Linked DNA regions of Homo sapiens: region 1 is linked to region 2. The links are contacts of gene promoters, found by promoter capture Hi-C in human tissues and cell types (Jung and others, 2019). All regions are on one chromosome and are shown on one strand. Each heading gives the region's core, a stretch centred on a gene start or on the middle of the fragment in contact. The rest is flanking DNA. Distances are from core to core; before and after follow the strand shown. Region 1 has its middle 6.9 kb from the start of CHRDL2. Region 2 holds the start of UCP2 (uncoupling protein 2).

What was found. Contacts are between HindIII fragments. The study calls those that stand out against the background at their distance.
Region 1: a contact is called between a fragment that was not itself captured here and the fragment with the promoter of UCP2 in region 2, in 1 of the 25 tissues and cell types used here (dorsolateral prefrontal cortex).

The regions. Positions count from the first base shown.
Region 1 is chr11:74,736,571-74,740,090 of GRCh38, forward strand. It overlaps the pseudogene RPL36AP38. Among named protein-coding and RNA genes, the nearest start is that of CHRDL2, 6.9 kb to the left of the region's middle. The HindIII fragment of the contact is 8,028 bases long and covers 1-3,520 here.
Region 2 is chr11:73,981,066-73,984,295 of GRCh38, forward strand. It overlaps UCP2 (uncoupling protein 2), which reads right to left and starts at 1,778. Exons shown (of 8, transcript NM_003355.3): 1 at 1,656-1,778; 2 at 411-567. RefSeq lists silencers at 1,689-1,898, 2,199-2,358 and an enhancer at 2,615-3,115. The HindIII fragment of the contact is 13,644 bases long and covers 1-3,230 here.

The sequences.
Region 1 (3,520 bases), core at 180-2,679, 760 kb after region 2:
TACATAGGTTTCCATATGGCTATGTGAATATTCCCAAGTCTTTTTTCTCCCTCATTGAGCCCTCTGTTCCCAGGACAATCTGTACACAGCAAGAGGAGGAAGTATCAGGAAACCAGAATGGGGAACACATAGCCCTTAATGTCAGAGAGCCCTCATGAGGAAAACTGAGTGGGGACATGGTGTCTTCAGCAGAAGACATGGAGTGGGATCATCATTCTTCTAGAGTCTTAAGCCCTGCCACTGGCCAGAGGCCTCCTCTACTGGGGCATCCTCACTTACCAAGTATCAAAGAGAGTGGACCTTGTTCTCTCACCTCCTCCACATTCAGGGGACTTTAGAAAAGCAGTTTGTTCTCAGAGACTTCTTTCAATAGGTCTGTGAGGATGCAGTTAGAGCACCAGAAAACAGTGCCATACAACTTGGGTCACGCAGTTGGAAGGTGGCAGGCACTGTGTCCACCTAAAGGTGGGAATGAAGAGCCACTAGAATTATCTTTTAAAAATGTAAATCAGGCCAGGCGTCATATGTCATGCCTGTAATCCCAGCACTTTGGGAGGCTGAGGTGGGAGGATTGCTTGAGCCCAGGAGTTTGAGACCAGCCTGGGCAACAAAATGAGACCCTGTCCCTACAAAAAACTTAAAAATTAGCTGGGCATGATGGTGTGTACCTGTAGTCCCAGCTACCTGGGAGGCTGAGGCAGGAGTATTGCTTGAGCCTGGGAGGTCAAGGCTGCAGTGAGCCATGATTGCACCACTGCACTCCAGCCCGGATGACAGGGTGAGACCCCATCTCTGAAAAAAAAAAAAAAAAAAAAGAAAGAAAAGAAAAGTAAATTAGTGAAGTCCCTTCTTTGCTTAAAACCTCTCCATTGCACTTAGAATAAAATCCAAAGGGTGGGTGCAGTGGCTCACACCTGTAATCCCAGCACTTTGGGAGGCCAAGGTGGGAGGATCACTTGAGTCCAGGAGTTTGTGACCAGCCTGGCCAACATCATGAGATCTCATTTCTACAAAAAATTAAAAAATTAGCCAAGCGTAGTGGCACAAGCCTGTAGTCCTAGCTGCTCTGGAGGCTGAGGTGGGAGGATTGATTGAGCCTGGGAGGTGGAGGCTGCAGTGAGCCAACATCGCACCACTGTATTCCAGCCTGGACAACAGAGCAAGGCACTGTCTCTAAATAAATAAATAAGAATAAAATCCAAATCATTTGCCAAATATGTAAAGCCTTCCATGCCCTGGCCCTGTCTACACTCTGACTTCAGACCACTCTCCCTGTGCTCACTATGCTCTAGTACACGGGCCTTCTTTCTGTCCCTGGGATACATCAAGCTGCCTGGTCCCTCCTCAGGGATTTTGCCCTTGCTAGTTCTCCTGCTTGGAATGCTCTTCCCTCAACCTTTTCTACAGATAATACTTCATTCAGCTCAAATGTCACTTCTTTAGTGATGTTTCCCTGGTCCAATCTATGTAATGATGCCTGCTTTTGAGTAATTTTCTATCTTATTGCCTTGTTTTCTTTCCTTTCTTATCATTCTCTGAAACATATTTTTCACTTGTATATTATCTGTCTCCCTCATGAGCACAAAAGCTCTGCAACAGCCTAGACTTTAATTTTTTTTGTTTTATTTTCTATTTTTTTTTTTTTTTAAAGACAAAGACAGCATCTCGCTATGTTGCTCAGTCTGGTCTCAAACTCCTGGGCTCAAGCCATCCTTCTGTCTTGACATCCCAAAGTGCTGGGACCACAGGTGTGAGACACTGCGTCTGGCTGTGGACTTTAATTTTTGATCACTGCTATATCCCTAGCTCCTGGAACAATGCCTAATACATAACAGATTTTTTTGTATGTGTGTGTGAACCTAACTTCAATATTTTATTGTCTTCACAATTAAAAAAAAGATGAAGCTTTGAACTAGGTCACTTGGCCCTTTTCTTCCTATCTCCCGCCAGTTTAAAATGCTTGCATCTCTTAATAGTCAGCCTTCTCTTAGCTCTGCAATTGGGCTCAATGCACTCAAGGCTCAGCACAGTCTTTTTTGTGGTTTTAACCTTTTTCTGGAAAATTGGCTTAGTCTGCCCACCCTAGCCACTCTGCTTCTTGTTATAATGCTGCTTTCCCTGGACATACAGTGGATCCTTACCCTTCTTGTACTGCGTCAGTTTGTGGGGTTGGTGCTTGCCTCACTTCTTACGGAAAGTCTGGCAGGTTTTAGGAATGTTCACCATGTTTGTAGGTGTGCTATTGATATAGAAAATGAATTTAAAAAAGAAAGAAAAGAAATGGAGGATGGAATATTTATCTGTGTTATCTGATTCATATGAGTAATGAACCCTAGATTCAAGACCCCAAATCCTTGGAATTCACCCACATTAGTATTTTCATCATCATTATTATTCCCCTTACTTTTATTATCATCTCACCACCATCATTATCAATAACAGCACTGCACGGCACATGGGAGTATTTAACGTTGTTGAATGACTGAATAAATGAATAGCAACTTTACAGCTGACCTCGGACTTCCTTTTTAGTCTTATTTACTCCTCCTCCTCTGCTTCAGTCCAACTTCTTATCTATACTGTGTGTAGCTACTCAGAGTCATTTTCACTGAACACATGCCTCCATGCCTCCTTGTGTTGGCTTATTCTGCTATTCTTTCTATTTGTAATTCCCATTTCCCTTCTCTGATGAGTTCTCATTCTTCCTTTAGGACCTAATTCTGTATTTCATCCAGGTACATAGTCACTTCCTCTTCTGTGCCTCCATATTGCCTTTTCTACATCACTGTTAAATGCTCATCTCTTAAATTATAGGTGTTGTTGTATCTGTCTCCCTCCCTAGATAGGGAGTATCATGAGGGCAGAGATGGTATATTTCATCTCTGTGTTATCAGGAACCATTATTGGACTTGCCATATAGCAGTTTAACAATATTTGTTGAAATCTTCCTTTTTGTATTGGGCATACAGGTTGCCTTGCAGAAGAGTGTGCTAGAGGAGAAGATGTACAATGTTGGTCAGAACATGGTCCCTTGCCCCAAGTTCTTACAATCTAATTGGGAGAGAATCTTTTCATAGAGATATAGCATTAAAACTCGATGTATTCTAGAATTAAATATGAGACTGGAGAAAGCTTGGTGTGGAACATGTGTAGAACTGGAGTAGTGAGTCAAAAGATTTGTTTTCTAGTTTCTACTTTACTAGTCACTCACTATGTGGCTTTGGCAAATTATTTCCCCTCTTTAGACCTTGGTTTTCTTCTCTTGAAACAAAAAGGTTTGATTAGAAGCCTTGGATGGTTTTTTAAAGCCAGTTATAGCTCTGACATTCTGATTCTGGAGTTTGGAAACTGGGTGGAGGAGACCGCGTAGGCTCAGTTTGCCCCCTGGTGGTCAAACTGAGCAACATCGCAGACCTAGGAGACGCCTGCAGGCATTTCCCAGGGATGGGATTGCAGAACACAGAGCCAAGTAAACAAAGAACAGTGGGACGATGACCATTCTAGTGCAGAACCCATCAGG
Region 2 (3,230 bases), core at 528-3,027:
TTAATCCTATTTTACAGTCCCCAGCAAATAACCAGTTTCAGAGCCGGGCTGATTACCAATCTCGGTTTCAGGGATAGTCAAAAGCTAGCATCAATATGAAGTTAGAACAATAGGTTCCTGTCCTAGCTCTTCTGCTGGCTCCCGGGATGACTTGGGGCCAATCACTGTTACACGTGGGCCTCAGTTTTCTCCTTTATAAAATGGGGACCAAGATCCTTGGCTTGTCCGAGTCAGCTGAAGGGCCAGAATGAGAGCGGGGAGGTGTGAGAGTGCTCTGTGAACTGGAAAGAGCCACTTCACTGTCGGGGGTGGGGATGGTAATTATTTTTGTTAATGCCCTGCTGACTCCTGCCCCTAGACCACAGGGTTAGGAGGCAGCAAGAGACCTCTTCCTTGGACTGGACTCTTACCCGGCTTTGTAAGGTCTCACGGTGAGGCCTCCAAGATCAAGCTTCTCTAAAGGTGTCCCGTTCTTCAAAGCTGCCAGTGGCTATCATGGCCCGATCCCCTTGGTTTTCCATAGAAAATGGGTGGGAGACGAAACACCTAATGGTCATACTATGTGTCCTGTGGGTGAGCAAAGGCAGAGAGTTTAGAAAGGGCCACCTGCCCCAAGACACACAAGCCCACCCAATCCATGCCTTGGAGGGGGATGGGGAACAGGGCCCAGGGACTGGTTAAGTGCACACACTGGAAAGGGGAAAAGCAGGGCGGAAAATGAACCTAGGTACACTCCCCACCCCCACCCCACCTGCTTAATATCACAAATTGGTTCTCATCCAGACTTCTGCTTTTGTAACACTCAGTACTCTATATAAGCACCCCCTAGCACAGTCATCAGACTTTGGTGAGTGGGAGAGTTGTGAGGGGGTCACGATGGGACAGAGACTCTCCGGGAATTGGCTAGGTCCCAGGTCGGGCTGTGAGGAGGTTGGAAGGGCTGGGAGCCGGCCCTGCAGAGGCCAGATTGAGCAGCTCAAAGCCCACTAGAAAAAGCCCCCAAGCCCTGGGAAAGGCGGTGCAGGAACACTGCCTGGAGCTGCCTGGTAAGGGAGAGGTCATTGTGGTCATCGCTGATGGTCCCCATCCAAGGCAGGGCTCGGCATCGTGGTGGAAAGGAGGGAGTGAAAAGGTGGAGGCTCAAACGACAGCCAACTGAACGGGAGAGGGAAAGAACAAAAGGGACTAAGAAAAAGAGAGAAGAGAAATAAAGAACCAAGGACAGAAAGGATTAGCACAGGCCGGACCCGGAGGCTCATGCCTAAAATTCTAGGACTTTGTGAGGCCGAGGCGGGCGGATTGCTTGAGCTCAGCAGTTCGAGGCCAGCCTGGCCAACATGGCGAAACCCCATCTCTACAAAACACAAAAATTAGCCAGGCGTGGTGGCGGGCGCCTGTAATCCCAGCTACTCGGCAGGCGGATCGCTTGAACCTGGGAGGTGGAGGCTGCAGTGAGCCGAGATCGCGCCACTGCACTCCAGCCTGGGAGACAGAGCGAAAGCCTGTCTCAAACAAACAAACAAAAACAAAAAATAAAACCGAGAGAAAGAAAAGAGTACAAACTTGGGTGGGAGAGAAGGTAAATGGAAGAGCGGGCAGCGCACGCAGAACAAGCGTGGGGGGCGCAAAGGGCGCAGGGCTGGGGCCAGGCTCACCGAGCCGCAGGGAGAACACGGCAGTGCGTGCGGCTGTGTCTGTCGGCTGGCGGAGGGCGCGTCGGACGAGCCGGGCGAGCGTGGACAGTCAATCCCAAGGCGCGCGCAGCTGGGCTTCGCAGTGGGGCTCCGCGCAGGCGGCGGCGCGGCTTAAGCCTCGGGGGCGGGGCCCGGGGTGGGGCCTGCGGGGCGGGGCCGGGCCTGCCAGCTCCTACTTGGGTGCGGAGACCCTGGAGCAGCCGCCTTTCCGCGGGGACCGCCCCGCCTAGGGTTCTCTCCATGACTTTCTCCACTCCCGTTTCCGTGCGTCCCATCACCGCGTTTACTCCTTCGTTCCCCGAGATGGTCACTCCCTTGCCACTCCCCGCCTCTGCCTCACACTCTCTCGGGCCGCCAACCTCTGTGAGGATGGCAAGACTGACCGCCAGAAACAAGTCTTGTCCAGTCACACACCTCTTGCCTTCCCAGCCAGGACGGTTTCTAACAGCGTCCAGCGGGGCCGTGTCTTAAGTGCACTTCCTCTTTTATGGGCCCAGCCCCCCTACGCTGGGCAAACTACCCACCCTCCTGCGAGCGAGCGCGCGGCTGGCTCCTGCAGGGCGGGACTGGGGCCTCGCGACCGGCCTCGCTGTCGATTGGTTACAGCCGCCGCGTTGTCGGGGGAAGGAACCAATCAGAACTGCAGCAACAGGTGGCCCGGCAACCGACAACAGCCGTTGGGCTCGGCTGGGGTTCGCGCCTTCTCCCCCGGTGGAGCGGCCTGGCGTTTAGGGACCAGGACACTAAAGGCCCCGGCGGGGCGGGAGCACCCAGCGTGACCTCACGCTCCTACACACAGACAAGCAAACGGGCCGGCCCCCGCACGTGACAAGGCAGAGCCGGGCCCAGGCCAGCTGCCTGTCCAGCCCTGGGATGAGAAAAGGCGTCAGGAGATGGACCGGGCCTGGTTCGCCTTTAATTGGCTGACCCGTCCTGTGGGGGTAACTGACGCGTGAACAGCCAACAATTGGGCCCTCTGGCCGGGACAAACACGTGCGTTTGGGGAGTAGAAGAAGGCTGGTATTAACCTCCATTTTACAATGAGGAAACGGAGTCCCAAAGACGTTCAGTCATCTTCCTGATATTCACACACTTACACCCTGGTCAGGCCGGCGCCATATGTGTTTTCACCAGCAGAAGGGACTGCCAGGGAACAGCTGAGGGGACCAGAGCTGGGATGGGCCTGGATAATTATAGCGGAAAGAAAAACACGCCGAGCGCATGGTCCTGGCAGAAGCAGCGTGGAAACAGAAGTCAAGGCAGATTATTTCTGCCATGAGGAGATCTTGCCATGTAGGAAAAAAGAAAGAAAGAGAGGAAAGAAAGACAGAGAGAGAGAGAGGAAAGACAGAAAGACAAGAAAGAAAGAGAAAGAAAGAAAAGAAAAAAAAAAAGAAAAGATAAAGTTTTTTTGTGGCACTGTGAGTCTCCCTCCGCCAGGTTCTCTAGCTTTTGCGCTGAGCTCTGTCTGGCTGTGCATTCCGGAGAGGCTCGGCAAATTTGCTGTGAGATTGCTGAGCAACAGCAGAACAGATG